Regions from separate parts of the Homo sapiens genome. Here region 2 is linked to region 1. Evidence: promoter capture Hi-C in human tissues and cell types (Jung and others, 2019). All regions are on one chromosome and are shown on one strand. The core of a region is centred on a gene start or on the middle of the fragment in contact, and the rest is flanking DNA. Distances in the headings are between cores, read along the strand shown. Region 1 holds the start of VPS26A (VPS26 retromer complex component A). Region 2 overlaps MACROH2A2 (macroH2A.2 histone).

Region 1 (7,683 bases), core at 1,508-4,007:
ACACCTCCAGAAAATTGTGGATATCTTACATTTTACAGGTAGAGAACAAAAAGAAAAAAATAACTGAGGAAAAAAGCTTGTCTTTTAGAAAGAACTGAAAGAGAAAGATCTCTACCCAAAGTCTCTCTTTCAAAGTTTTTTCTAAGATGTGCAACTTCTGTCATTTGAAATAAAGGGTAATGAAATTAAATTCTTTTTCTAATTATTCTAAATAAAATTCTAATACTTCTGATATGTTAAAGAGGAAGTAAAATACACAACTGTCAAGCTGGTAAAGACTAGAAGGAAAGAGAATAAAATTTGTTGAGGGTTAGGATATGATGCAGACAGCAATTCAGTTTTGAGATTTTTTTTTTTTTTTTTTTTTTTGAGACGGAGTCTCACTCTGTCGCCAGGCTGGAGTACAGCAGCGCGATCTCGGCTCACTGCAACCTCTGCCTCCCGGGTTCAATTGATTCTCCTGCCTCAGCCTCCTGAGTAGCTGGGATTACAGGTGTGCGCCACACCTAATTTTTTTATTTTTAGTTGAGACGGAGTTTCACCATGTTGGTCAGGCAACTTCCGCCTCCCGAGTAGGTGGGACTACAGCAATGCGCCACCACACTTGGCCAATTTTTTTTTGTTTTTGTATTTTTAGTGAAGACGGGGTTTCGCCATGTTGGCCAGGCTGGTCTCAAACTCCCGACTTCAAGGTGATCCGCCCACCTCGGCCTCCCAAATTGTTGGGATTACAGGTGTGAGCCACCGCACCCCGTGAGATCTTTTAAGTGCAAAAATACTACTCACTTCTTTTGGTAAAGATATCTTCAAGGGCGCATTTGGAATATTGCGATTTTCAGGATTAACTATTAATATGCAAGTTAAAACTCTTGAGCTTTTAAATAACTGGACTGCAATATATATGACTATAAAAACATGCTAGCAATTGTTTTTATAGTTTTCTAATCTTGGCCTAAACCTCCTATCACTGACTTTAGGTTAATTTAGGATTTTTCATATAATTTCTGAACCCAATATTGAGCATTACCAATTAGCAAAAATACATGGTAGATACATAAAAAGGCAACTTTTTAGTCCCCACTGAAGGAATTTCACTAAGTCCAGTGGATGTAAAGAAATGCAACTCATTGCATTTCTGAGGTGGAAGGCTGACTCTCAAAATTCATTCACTTAGCCCATACACAAGCAATGAAACAGCAAATTTTCATACATATATTACATCTGTGACCATTTCAGTGTTTTAAAGTTTTACAATTTAGTTTCTGTTTGGGTAACTTGAAAATATAAACTGCTCTTGAACATAATTCAAAAAAGCGTATTAAAAGTAATAATTACAAATGTAAGCAAAAAATAGGAGGACCTTTTAAGTTTTCTTTTCAAATGATATTCAATTAAAGAAGCCTGCCCTAACACTGACTAGGCAAGGTCCCCCAATACTTCCTTCTTAGTATCTGTCACAATTCTAATTTCCACGTTAAACAAATAATTTACACAAATAAATGTTTATCTCTCCCTACATTGTAAGCTACGAGAGCAGGTAGGCGCTGTTTCCATTTTACTGGGGTCCCCTAGGCACACCTGAGCAATTATTTGTTGAATGAAAGAAAAAAAGCTCTAAGAATGAACATGAATGTCTGGATTTTGTTTTGTTTTGTTTTGAAAGCAACATCATTACTGAAATTAAAAGTTATTTATTCAAAGTAGCTTTTTAAAAATATACCTGGCTCGGCCTTTTAAGCCAAAAGTCTCAAGCAGTCTATTGAATCAGTGAGCTTTGGGAAGAGCAGGTAGTATTAGGAGAGCATACAGTAGGCGCTAAATGAAGAGAACTGACGACTACTACCAGAAAATGGGTAAAATGAGATCTAACCTAGAGACTGCCGACACCCAGCTAAATACCACAATGCCCAGGCTAGTGCTTCCGCGGACTGTGGTGAGAGCACTGATTCCCCTCCCTCCTCTGCCTCATAGGCCGTTTCAACAACCCAGAGCGTTAAGTTCAGCGAAATAGCTTGCGGACGGAAATGAGAGCCAATGCTTAAAACGGCGGGCACCAAACGGGTGTCTCTGGAGTTAAAGATATCCCCCATTCCAACGTCCTTTTATTTTTCTCTCCCATTTTACAAGTGTCAACAGAAAGCCTGAACTGGGGTCATGAAATCAAAGAATGTCACCATAGTCAGGTTTTAAAATATCAGAGTTTATCAAGTTCGTGACACACTGAGTGCCCAAGTCCCCCGAAGAGTCCGGAGGTGGGGGGCTCCCGGGTCGCCCCACCTGGATGGAAGAGAGGCTGCCCGGGAGGAGAACAGGGACTGGCTACCTAGGAAGGGGAGGCGGCGACCAGCCCCCGCAGAGGCGGGGTCCGAGTCCCCAGCCAGAGCCCCAACAAGCAGTCGAAGAACGCGGGCAGAGGCTCCGACATGGCCAGGAGAGCACGCCGCCGCCCGTAGGTGCTCGGGCCTCGCCGAGACCGGGAAGAGGTGGCGCCGCCAGCTTTTCCCAGACCCAGGGGTGGCCCGACAGGCCTAACCCCGCTCCCCGCCCTGCTCCCCCGTCCCCTCCTCCGGCGACGCCCGGCCCGCGGTTGGCCGGCCCGCCGCGCGCTCCGGGACGAGGGCGGGAGGCGAGCGCGCTGGCCGCCGCGCACTCACCATTGTCAACGCCGCCGCCGCGTCCCCCCTACTCCACTCCTCTTCCCTCAGGAGAACTCCCAGCCCCGGCTCCCTCCGCTCCGGCGCTCCGTCACGTGACCTCGGGCCGCCCCTCACACGTGACCGCTCCCTTCCTCTCCCCCACCCCCGCACCCGTCCCTCTCCCAGCCTCCTGCCCCGCCCTGCTGGCCGCCAGGCACTCCGGGGAGAGGCCGCTTGGAGGCGGGGCCTCAGGCTCCACCCTTCGGAGGGTGGAGAGGGGCGGGCAAATTACGTCGAGTGGGCGGGGCCTGAACAGAGGCGGGTTCGCGGGCTCCTCCTCGCCGTCTCTTCGGTCACCGGACGAGCGGTTCCGTGTCCGGCCTCTTTACCGCACCCAGTTCCTCTTTGTGAAAGTTTGAGCGGCTGGGAAGGAAGGAGGAGAGGAAGGATTCATCTGGAGGCTCTCTCCTTGGCTGGGTCCTTGGGTTGCCGAGGCGAGTGGGAGCCCTACTTCCTTAGGCCTCGCAAGAAGAGATGTGCTCTCTTCGTCCACGGCGAGGCGTTCTGCCACCTTGCCTGAACGCAGTCCCGCTCCACCTCCTTCTGAGTCTGGGTTTTCTTAACTTGGCTTTCTCGCCTCTGAAGAGAAGACCAGTAGAAAAAAATCCTAGGGTACAACTTTCATTGCTTCCCAAAGTCCCCAGATGGCCCCTGAGCGACCCACCCTGAGCCTGGAGGGCTCACAAACCCACCGTTCCGCCCAGCCGTTCTGAGAGGGCAAAGGCGCTCCCCCGAAAGTCCCACGGCGCAGCTGAAGACTACGCTGGCCTGAACTGGATCCTCCTCCCTAGTGTAAGCCTATAGGACCTCCAGATGAGGAAAATACTGTGTGGGATTTCAGAGTATAGTGTTGAAGGGCCACAGTGCACTCTATGCATAACCAAAGCAGAAGAAAAATCCATCCCTGAACGCACTATAATTACCCCACCTTAAAACAGAAGTTTGTGAGGCGAGTCCATGAAACAGGTATCAAAAAAAATTTTTTTATACTTAATCCTCAGTGTGAGCCTCAAATTTAAGAGGATTGAAATCAGAGTATCATCTCTAACCGCAATAGAATTAAAATTAGAAATCAACCCAAACAAGCCAGAAAATTCCGGAAATATTGGAAATTAAGCAACATAATTCCAAATCTCTAGGTCAAAGAAGAGATCAATGGAAATTTAAAAATAAGTTGAGGCCGGGCACGGAGGCTCACACTTGTAATCCCAACACTTTGGGAGGCCAAGGCAGGTGGATCACCTGAGGTCAGACACGAGTATCTCTTGAATCCGGGAAGCGGAGGTTGCAGTGCCCGAGATGGAGCCACTGCACTCCAGCCTGGGCGACAGAGCAAGACTCTGTCTCAAAAATAAAAAATAATAAAAATAAAATAATTTGAAATAAAAGATAATAATACAACATATCAAATTTGTGGAATGCAGTGACACTGTGTAAAAGGAAAATTTGTAGCTTTAAATGCACATATTTGGGCCAGGCATGGTGGCTCACAGTCTATAATTCCAGCACTTTGAGAGGCCGAGGCGGACGGATCACTTGAGGTCAGAAGTTTGAGACCAGCCTGGCCAACATGGCGAAACCCCGTCTCTACTAAAAATACAAAAATCAGCGGGGCATGGTGGTGCACGTCTGTAATCCTAGCTACTCGGTAGGCTGAGGCAGGAGGATCACTTAAACCTAGGAGGCAGAGATTGCAGTGAGCCAAGATTGCGCCACTGCACTCCAGCCTGGTGACAGAGCGAGACTCCATCTCAAAAAAAATAAATAACTATAGTAACACTGATATTGTTGTCTGTTTGAACTGTGAAAAGAAAGCAGCAAAAACAATGCAAATCTTTAATTAATAAAAGTGAAAAATGGTTTTTTTCACTTAGAAGATTTGCCTGTCACCTTGAGAGCTACTCTGGTTCCTACCCACTCTTTTCTGGGACTTAAATATCAACATAACAAAGAGAATAGATGAAAATGCCACACAGGCAAAGAAATACTAGCGAAGCCAGGTATAAATAAGAGGTGGCAAAGAAAGTCACACTAGAAACCAATTTGTACTAATTATTTATTCTACTGATCAAAACCCAATCAATAATTGTGCTATCATAATAAATACAAGAAGCAACAGAATTGTTGAGCTAGTTATTTGTCTGTCTGCCTACCTATCAATCTATTCAGCAAGCCAGAATGTTAGAGCTAGATTGTGAGCAGTACAGTGTTTCACCAGCTGAGAACTGTGGCATCTCTATATTTGCCCTCTGCCAAAAAAAAAAAAAAAAAAAAGGTGGGGTGTGTGAGGAAAATGTGACTAACTTACAGGGATTGACTTTCATCAACAAAAGTACCGAGTTTAGGTCAGAAAGTATTAGATGATAAGATAATCTGAGCTTTTATCAATCAGAAACCAGTTAAGAGAAAAATAGTCATTTGTTCAAATTCACAAAGACTAAAAATTCACATTAATAACTGTGAGAGTGTCAGGGAGCAGCTGTTTGCAGAGTTCACTGGCAAAGTTAAGGGAAGAGAATAAAATACAAATACACAAAAAGGATAAAGAAAGAAAATACAATTTAGGCCGGGCGCAATGGCTCACACCTGTAATCCCAACACTTTGGGAGGCTGAGGTAGGTGGATCACTTCAGCCCAGGAGTTTGAGACCAGCCTGAGCAACATGGTGAGACCTTGTCTCTTGCAAAAGAACAAAAATTAGCTGGGAGTGGTGGCATGTGCCTATTGGACCAGCTGCTCAGGAGGCTGAGGTGGGAGGATAGCTTGAGCCAGGGAGGCAGAGTTTGCAGTGAGCAGAGATTGCACCACTGCACTCCAGCCTGAGCAACAGAGCGAGACCCTGTCTCAAAAAATAAATAATAAATTAATTTAATTTAAAAATAAAATACAATTTAAAGCATGCCAGTGAAGTATAGAAACACTTTTTTCTTTTAACCTCCCAGAGCACATAGAATAGATTTTGCTTAAAAACTTTAGCGAGTGCAGCTGTAATCATGGTAAATATTCTTTTTTTAAAAAATTACAATTATAAAAGCCAAACATTTTTTCACAATATACAGTTTTTTCTTAAATGTACCAATACTTAATGTTTTATCTCACTATTCCTCTTTTCTTTTTAAAATGAGATATAATGTACATACAGTGACATATGTTAGTCTTAAGTGTGCAGTTTGATCAGTTTTGACAATTGCATACATTTTGATTGTGCATGGTGTCACAGGGCGCCGTGGCTCATGTCTATAATCTCAGCACTTTGTGAAGCCAACACAGGAGGATTGCGTGAGGCCAGGAGTTCAAGGCTGCAATGGTCGTGTCGCTGCACTCCAGCCTGGATGGTGGAGCAAGACCCTAGTCTCTAGAAAAAATTTAAAAATTATCCAGGTGGTGGGGCATGCCTGTAGTCACAGCCGCTCAGGAGGCTGAAGCGGGAGAATTGCTTGAGTCCAGGAGTTCCAGGCTATAGTGAACCACACTGGTGCGACTGCACTCCAGTTTGGGCTACAGAGCCAGGCCCTGACTCTTAAAAAAAAAGCATACATTTGTTTAACCCACACCTTCATCAAGATATAGATGACTGCCATCAACCCCAGAAAACTTTCTCACATCCTCTCACAATCAATCCCATCTCCTAGACGCAACCACTGTTCTGATTTTTTTTTGATATTGATTAGCTTTGTGTGTTCTATAGCAAAATAATAATGGAATCATACCACAAGTGTTCTTTTGTGTCTTGTTTCATTCCCTAAGCAAAATGGTTTTGATACTTATTTATGTTGTTGTATGCATCAGCAGTTTGTTCCATTTCATTGCTTATAGTAGTATTCCATTTTGTGAAGAGACCACAAAATATCCTTTTTCCTGTCAGTGGACATCTTTTTGCCCATTTTTTTCTATTGTGAACAAAGTGCTACTATGTACACGCCTTTTTTGTGAACCTAACCGAAGTGGAATTGCTGGGTTGGGTTAGGTGTATATTTAATTTTACAAGAAAATGCCACATCACTTTTTAAACTGTTTGTGCCATTTTATCCTCCCATCACGAGTGTGTGAAATATTGTTTCTATATCCTTGCTAACATTTGGTGTTGTCAGTGTTTCTAACATTAGTCATTCTTATGAGTGTGTGGTTTTCTCACTGTGATTTTAATTTGCTTTTCCCTGATGATTAATGATTCTGAACACTTTTTCATGTGCATATGTATCATTCACATATACCTCCCTTTGGGAAGTGCCTGTCAAGACTGCCAATTTTTAGTTAAGATGTTTATTTTCTCATTGAGTTATAGTTTATCAAATATTTTGAATATAAGTCCTGTATCAAATGTAGTAATTGCAAATATTTTCTCCCACTCTGTGTGCTTATTTACTTTCCTAACAATGTCTGTTGATGACTTGAGAATTTGGACTTTTACATTTAGGTGTAAAATGTAAAATGAGATCCATCTCAAACTAAATTTTGCAAATAGTATGGGGTAAGATTTGAGAGCTTATTTGTGTCTACATGGTTCCAGCACCATTTGTTGCAAACACTTACCTTTCCCCCTTAAATATCTTTGGTGTTAGCCGGGCGCGGTGGCTCATGCCTGTAATCCCAGCACTTTGGGAGGCTGAGACAGGTGGATCACCTGAGGTGAGGAGTTCAAGACCAGCCTGGCCAGTATGGTGCAACCCCGTCTGTACTAAAAAATGCAAAAATTAGCTGGGTGTGGTGGTGCGTGCCTGTAATCCCAGCTACTCAGGAGGCTGAGGCAGAAGAATCATTTGAGCCTGGGATGCAGAGGTTACAGTGAGCCAAGATTGGGCCATTGCACTCTAGCTTGGGCAACAGAGTGAGACTCTATCTCAAAAAAAAAAAAATATATATATATATATATGTATATATATATATGTATATATATATATACATATATATATGTCTGTATAGATAGATAGATATATCTTTGGTGTTTTTGTAAAAAATCTATTGACTGTATAATTGTGGGCCTATT
Region 2 (7,683 bases), core at 2,781-5,280, 970 kb before region 1:
AGCCACCGCGCCTGGCCCCCTCTCCTTTCTTTCTTTCCCTTACAGCTCATGCCTTTGGTTCCCAACCCTGGTGGCCTTAGTTTTCAGTGATGCATCTTCTGAGAAGCTCCTGCAAGGAAGCCCAGGGCTTGCTCTCTCTTCTCCCCTCAGCATCCTGCATTCTCCCTAGAAGAACACAAAATCTGTGGGGCAGGGCTCTGAAGCCAATAACCTTGCTGGAGAGAAGTAATGGGCTCTGGGATTCTGACCTGGGGGTGTCTGGCTCCCTTGCCCTTTGGAGACCACAGTCTTGGGGCTACCATTGGGAATTGCTATCCTATGTGTTCACAGTAGAGTGGAATGGAGGGCATTCTCTATTGTTGGCCCATGTGAGCAAGACCTTTATGTTGCCTTAGCTAAGTGAGAGAAAGCTAATCGTCATGTAACAGTGAACAGGCCAGAGAGGGGACATAAATTCCACCTCTTTGTTTCCCTGCTTTCATCAGTGACGAATTAGCAACCAGCCACACCGATGCTCTTCTTAGAACATACTCTTCCCAATTCTTTGAATGGAGGCTTACTGTGTTGTCAAGATGGAAACATTCAGCTACCAGAGATATGATTAACTGACTCTTTCCTTGGGTGTCTTATTTCAGCCCCAGTTGACTTGGTAGATAAATTGTCTGCTCAGTAAACTTTACACTTGTAGGAATGAATTATTTGCATGTCTGGTTGGGCTGCTGTTGTGTTGCTGAAGACTGTTCAAATGCATAGCCCTGTTTGTTTACTTTCTAAAGCCTAGGAAGGCAGGCAGACTGAATTATTGGCAAATAATTCATTTCTAATACCAAGGATATTTGGGAAACATATATTTCTATTTTCTTTCTTTGATAAATTACATTGAACCATGTAAGATGGGCCTCTCAGAAGCTGTCTGAGAAAGTTAGCTATGGATTTTTTTTTTGGCAGATGTAGAAATAACTGGGGTGTGGGGAATTCCCAGCAAAACCAGTAATGCCATCCTATCTACTGACCAGAAAGAGCTTCCATGCTCACCCTTGTCTGACCAATGTTAGCGTTAACAATTCTCAGCAAAAAAGAACAATTCTCACTCTCACAATGCTGACACTGCCACAGCTCTTTAGTTTAAAAATGAATAATTCAAGACTGCAGTGAAAATCATTATCAGGGGAGGAAAGGAGGCATCATTGCTTGTAAACAGTAGGTTATAAAAATACAGTGGTGTTTTAATATAGCACAAGGCAATTCTCTTTGTTACCTTCTGTCCCAGAACAAGGCTCTTAGAAGACAGAATGGTGAATCCATCCCCTGGCCCATCTTCAGAGGTGGAATTTGAAGTTCCTTCTTTATCGCTGTCCTTTGGTTTGGACTGTCGGTAAAAATCAAAAGGCAAGATGAGAACCAATCCAGAAAAAGCCTGAGGTGCCTTTATTAAGCTCTTCTCACGGCTGCCACCAAGTTGAATATGAAAGGAAGTGGTTAGGTGATGTGTTCTGCTGTTTCTTGAAGGAGGGGAGCAAAAGTCAGCAATATAAGGAAAGAAAAGGGTACCGCAAAATAGCAAAATAGAAAGTGTGTTAAAGGGCTCACACATACCTGCAGTCCTCACCTACCCCTGTGCACCAGCACATTGTCCTTGCTCATTTCAATGCCTGCAGCTCACGACGACAAGCATCGGAGCTGGGTGGGGCCGTTGATAGCCCATTGCTTAGCCTTCTTTCTCCCCAGGATTTCTCGGGGCACAGAGGCAGTGTGGAATGAAACATCCACAACTTCTACAGTAGGGTTGTCCAATAGAACTTTCTGTGATCGTGGAAATATTCATCTTGATCCTCAATAATGTTGCTGAGTGCTTGAAATGTGGCTGGTACAATCAAGGAGCTGAATTTTAAATTTGATTTAGTTTTAATTCAAATCCAAATAGCCTTGGCTTGTGTGCCTTAGCTCACACTTATAATTCCAATGCTTTGGGAGGCTGAGGCAGGAGGGTCGCTTGAGCCCAGGAGTTTGAGGCTACAGTGAGCTATGATCTCGCCACTGCATTACTGTACTCCAGCCTGGGTGACAGAGTGAGACCCCTGTCTCTTAAAAAAAAAAAGCCACATGTGACCAGTGGTTACTGTACTGGGCAACATAGGAAAACATTATTCTATCAGTGGCATCTCTGAGCTAAGCTACCTAGTATATCAAGCTAACCCAAACACCTAGTATATCAAGTATATGCCAAACACCTGAAATTCCACTGGCGGAACTCAGGGAATGCCTGCAGGAGACTAGAGGCTGTTTGGAAGGCAACACAGAGCTCTGCAGAGAAATAAAATGCAGGTTCCTGGCTATCATCGCTCACTTCAGATTTTGCTGGGGGTAGTAAAAGGGATCTGAAAACCATCCCTGCTTAGGGTTTGGAAACCTAGAGAAGACCCATTTCAGCTCTAACCTCAAAGGCCCTTTATTCTTTTACCTGTACATTCTTGTCATTTTCTTCCGGCACCAAGCTGCAAGAGTCCTCGGTCCTTCAGAGGTGTCTGCTACGAAGTCATTGTCTCATCTTTAAACTTCCCTCCTGTTCTGTGAGCGTCTTAGTGTCTGCCTGGGCTGCTCTAACAAAATGCTATAGACTGGCTGGCTCACAAACAACAGAAACCACTTTCTTTTTTTTTTGTTTGTTTAAGAGACAGGGTCTTGCGCTGTCACCGAGGCTCGAGTGCAGTGGTGCCATCATGGCTCACTGCAGCCTCTAACTCCTAGGCTCAAGCCATCCTCCTGCCTCGGCCTCCCAAAGTGTTGGGATTACAGGCATGAGCCACTGTGCCTGGCCCAGAAACTTGTTTCTCATAGTTCCGGAGGCAGGAAGTCCTTGGCGCAGGCAGGTTCTGTGTCTGGCAAGGGCTCACTTCCTGGTAGATGACGCTTTCTAGCTGTGTCCTCACATGGCAGAAGGGTCCCTCTGCCTCCCTCAGGCCTCTTTTATAAGGGGACTGTTCCCATTCGTGAGGACTCGCCCTCATGATCTAGTTATCTCTCAAAGCCCACACCTTGTAATCCTATGCCTCTGGGGTTAGGTTTCAACATATGAATTGTGGGGGAACACAGACATTCAGACCATTGCAGTGGGAGTGCCTGGCCCAGGACACGCAGCCTCGGCCTACCTTTTTGGACGTCCGTGGTTTGGCAGCCTTGGATTTCTTCCCCCCCTTCTTGCCTGACGTGGCCTTCCTGCCTCTTTTCTCTGGGGGTGGGGAGAGGATCGTTTCCGACTTGCCTTTGGTCCCTCGCTTTTTGGCCAGCAGTTCGGGGTGAATTCTGGGCAGGACGCCTCCACTGGCGATGGTCACTCCTTTTAGCAGCTGAAGAGAGAAATGCATGCGCTCATGTAGCAAACAGCCTGCTAGTTCCCAATTTCATACAGTTCTTTTTTTTTTTTTTTTTTGATACAGAATCTTACTCTGTCACCCAGGCTGGAGTGCAGTGGCGCGATCTTGGCTCACTGCAGCCTCCGCCTCCAGGTTCAAGCAATTCTCTTACCTCAGCCTCCTGAGCAGCTGGGATTACAGGCACCTGCCACCACCCCGGCTAATTTTTGTATTTTTAGTAGAGACAGGGTTTCACCACGTTGGCCAGGCTGGTCTCGAACGGCTGACCTCAGGTGATCCACCTGCCTTGGCCTCCCAAAGTGCTGGGATTACAGGCGTGGGCCACTGTGCCTGGCCTGGACTTAATACGGTTCTAACTGTTAAATGTGGCCTCCGCTTTCCTAAAGAAACTGCGTAATACACCATTTAATTGGCTTTTCCCACTTTCAGTTGTAGAGCATTTCTCCGTAGGTTAACAAGGCATCCTGTGATGTTGTACAGAAAGCAAAACGAAGTAAAGCAAAATAGAAGGGACACAGAAGTTGAAACCAGGGATGTTGCCCAGGGCTCTGGAATTCCAGACACAACACAGGATAAAAAGCTTCCCATGTGGGGAGCGCAGCTTGAGAAAATGATGTTCAAAGGTCATTGCAAAGACTAGACCCAGTTAATGATGAACCAGTGGTCTCCACAAGCTTGCACATACATTCCATCAGTAAAGTATGTCTGGCCATGCTCCTCCCAATCAATATAAGTTAATTTATCTGCAAAGAACAGACACGTACTACTCCACTAATATATTCTGCAGATTCGAAACCAACACTACCCCAAGCATGGTCTGCGACCATGGCTCACCCATGAACTGGTAGTTACCCGTCAGTGACAACAGAAGTATAGCAAGCATCTAGAAACTTTCACAGCAAACTGACAGTTATTGTATATCTGTTGAATCTGATAACAAAAAATTATGGCTTGTAGTTTGCTTTTTAATTTTTCTAGTGATTTTTATTACATTTCTGGAAATTATCAGTCCATGATGGATTGGCCATAAAAATGGCTTCTTCACTACAGTTTGAGAAGAGTGAGATTAGAAAATAAAGATAAATGAAAAGAAACAGAAATAAAAATTCTTATACTATTTACCTACCACCTTACATATACTGTAGGTGAAAAGGGGGTATTCGCTTGACTTTGGAGTCAGTTTCAGAATATAAACAGTCAGTTCTAAAATATAAAGAGTCTTCTGCCTTCATCAGAAAAAACTGTCAACTAAGTTTGGGTGAAGAAAGTGAAGAGAATAACATTTGTGCCACACCTTCCTCAGCAACACACAGAACTTGTCTTCAAAGAGAAAAGAAAGGTCTGATAAGACCTAGAATATATAATGAGATCTATGCCAGAGGCAATTTTATTTTGAATCTGAATGATAAGAGCTAGCAGAATTTGTTCTTTTATATGGCCTGAGTTTTTTTTGTATAAATGTAATTGGGAACTGTAGCAGGAGTGACTCATGGCCAGCCAGGCCCACACATTAGCATGTTTGGCAAACCCATTCTACGGCTTCCCTCAAGGCTTCAGACATACCTGGTTGAGCTCCTCGTCATTGGCAACTGCCAGCAAGATGTGTCTCGGGGCTATCCGGGCCTTCTTGTTGTCCCTCGCGGCATTGCCGGCCAATTCTAGAATTTCCGCTGAAATCACAAGGAGGCATTAACAGGCAATCACAGAATGGGGTCTGAGCTAAAGCTTTTCTTTAGAAATGGCCTTCAAGTTTGATCACATTCATTCATTTGTGATTTCTATGTCTCGGCCTGGAAAGAAATCCAGGAAGCGTAAGAGAACTCAAGTTAGTCCCAGCTACTCAGGAGGCCGAGGCAGGAGGATCGCTTGAGCCCAGCCAGGAGTTCAAGGCTGCAGTGAGCTATGATTGTGCCACTGCACCCCAGCCTGGGCAACAGAGTGAGACCCTGTCTCTAAAAAAAAAATTTAAAAAAATTAAAAAATTTAAAAAAAGAAAAAATAAGTCAGGTCACAGAGAAGTAAGCTATTTTAGCAAGATGTTATCCGATCCTGTGGCAAAGCCTCCTGGTTGTCCCTCAGCATCAGTTCTCCCTCTTCCTCTTCTTCCTTGGTACAGGACTTCTGATTTTTTTTGCCAAGCCCATAACTGCAGGAAAACTATATTTCCCTTGATAAGTGTGGTTCTGTGACCAATATTTGGCCAAAGAAGGCAAGCCATTGTGTTTTCTGGTCCTTCTGGGAAGTGTCCATCAATGAAGGGGCTGTGCCCTTCTTTCCTTTCTAATGGTGGGCTGAGGACACGATGGCTGGAATTTGGGCAGCCATCTTTGACCAAGAAGAAGAAGTTGTGCATGCTAGAGCAAGAGCACAGAAGGAAACTGAGTCTCTACCAATCTAGACTGTCTTTTCTAGACTTCTTTTGTATGAGAGTGAAATAAACTCTCTTGTTGAAGCCACTGTCTATAGAAGTGAATCCTGACCAATACAGAATCCTGCTATAGAACCTAAATTCCTCTCAGTCTGTGGGGCACAGGGCCATCTCTGAAGAGAATAGTGATGTAGGTAAAGTCTGTTCTGGGTGCCCACTTGGACTTCTCTTAGACTGTCTTTTTCTTTTTTGTTGAGACGGAGTCTTGCTCGTTCTGTTGCCCAGGCTGGAGTGCAGTGGCATGATCTTGGCTCACTGCAACCTCCGCCTCCTGGGTTCAAGCAATTCTCCTGCCTCAGCCTCCTGAGTAGCTGGGATTACAGGCGCACACCACCACACCTGGCTAATTTTTGTATTTTTAGTAGAGATGAGGTTTCACCATGTTGGCCAGGCTGGACTCGAACTCCTGACCTCAGGTGATCCACCCGCCTGGGCCTCCCAAAGTGCTGGGATTACAGGCCTGAGCCACTGCGCCTGGTTGACTCTCCTTTTCCTCTTTGCTCAATGCCCTAGGTCCTCCCTGTCCTAAAAGAAAAGTGGATGGAAGGACTGACTTACACTCTGGGATGAGGAAATGGTTAACCCGAAAAGTGAATTCCTAAAGGGAATGCCAGGAGACCTGCGTAGGAAAGCACATAGAGCCTGGGGGTCTTCCACATACTTCCCAAAACTTTAGCATGGCTGACTTTAACAAACACGCCACTTGGCCAATGTGAAAACATTGATAAGAAGAAATTTTCCTAAAGCTATTTCCCATGCTATTAAAACCTTGGGGTAAAAAAAGAAATCTGTAGAATTGGTTTCTACTATCTATATGCTTTCCCCCTTCCTCTTCTGTTTTATTTCGTTATTTTTCTTTCTTCCTCAATTTTAGAAGGATGTTCTGCTAAATCAAATTTGCCTTCCAAAGTATGAATGAGCCTTTAAAGAAAAATTCCTTCCCTTAGAAAGCTAGAAGGAATGTGCCAATGTGTTGTTGTCTCACTGATAATGAGGGGGGAAAGTGTGCATGTGTGCGTGTGCGTGAATGTACTGTGTGTGTGTGAGTGTGCAGGCGGGCATATGTGCGTGTGTGTGTGCGTGAATGTACTGTGTGTGTGTGAGTGTGCAGGCGGGCATATGTGTGCGTGTGTGTGCGTGAATGTACTGTGTGTGTGTGAGTGTGCAGGCGGGCATATGTGTGCGTGTGCATGTGGGTATGTGCTGGGAGGATATGCTGATACAATGGCACAAATACTAAGCCCTAAAATTAACAGATGACTTTGTATGAGTCTTTGCAATCAATCTAATTTCAAATAAAAGAGCACATGAAATTGCCATCATTCATAAAATCTACGGCAATCACAAAAACTTGACATAAGTATGCTGTATTAACTAAGCACATGTGATTAACAAAAAATTAGAATAAAATAAACATTACAGTTAAATATTCATAGGCATTTCCATAAAGAAAAGTGCTGAATCACCGCAAATTCATTCTCACATCTTTTCCAGATTATTAAGCAATGAATATTGTGTTTGCCAACAATTCATTTATGCAGTGACCGTGTTTTCTGAATCAAAGATTGGGGCACTAAAATTTGAGGAGTGTGAGCATGCGTGTCGGGACAGTGGGATAGGGTATTTGAAATTAATGCTGTCTGTGAACCCATGGATTATACTGGAAAAATGAAATTAATGCTGTATTAGATAAGCAGGCTTGTGCTTTCAGGCTGTTGCCCAATCCTTGCTTTCTCTTCAAAAGGATGCCCATTAAAAGGAAATGGAGTGGCCAGGCATGGTGGCTGATGCCTGTAATCCCTGCAATTTGGGAGGCAGAGATGGGTGGATCCCTTGAGGTCAGGAGTTCGAGACCAGACTGGCCAACATGGTGAAACCCCG

The links. Contacts are between HindIII fragments. The study calls those that stand out against the background at their distance.
Region 2: a fragment that was not itself captured here is called in contact with the fragment with the promoter of VPS26A in region 1 in 1 of the 25 tissues and cell types used here (heart right ventricle).

The regions. Positions count from the first base shown.
Region 1 is chr10:69,119,252-69,126,934 of GRCh38, reverse strand. VPS26A (VPS26 retromer complex component A) reads right to left here and starts at 2,757. Exons shown (of 9, transcript NM_004896.5): 1 at 2,655-2,757. The coding sequence starts at 2,657. RefSeq lists enhancers at 1,793-2,299, 3,164-3,523 and a silencer at 2,504-2,903. The HindIII fragment of the contact is 17,457 bases long and covers 1-7,683 here.
Region 2 is chr10:70,087,421-70,095,103 of GRCh38, reverse strand. It overlaps MACROH2A2 (macroH2A.2 histone), which reads right to left. Exons shown (of 9, transcript NM_018649.3): 3 at 4,938-5,044; 4 at 3,150-3,347; 5 at 1,259-1,369. Among named protein-coding and RNA genes, the nearest start is that of MACROH2A2, 38 kb to the right of the region's middle. RefSeq lists a cis regulatory region at 3,988-4,001 and an enhancer at 3,922-4,066. The HindIII fragment of the contact is 5,418 bases long and covers 1,322-6,739 here.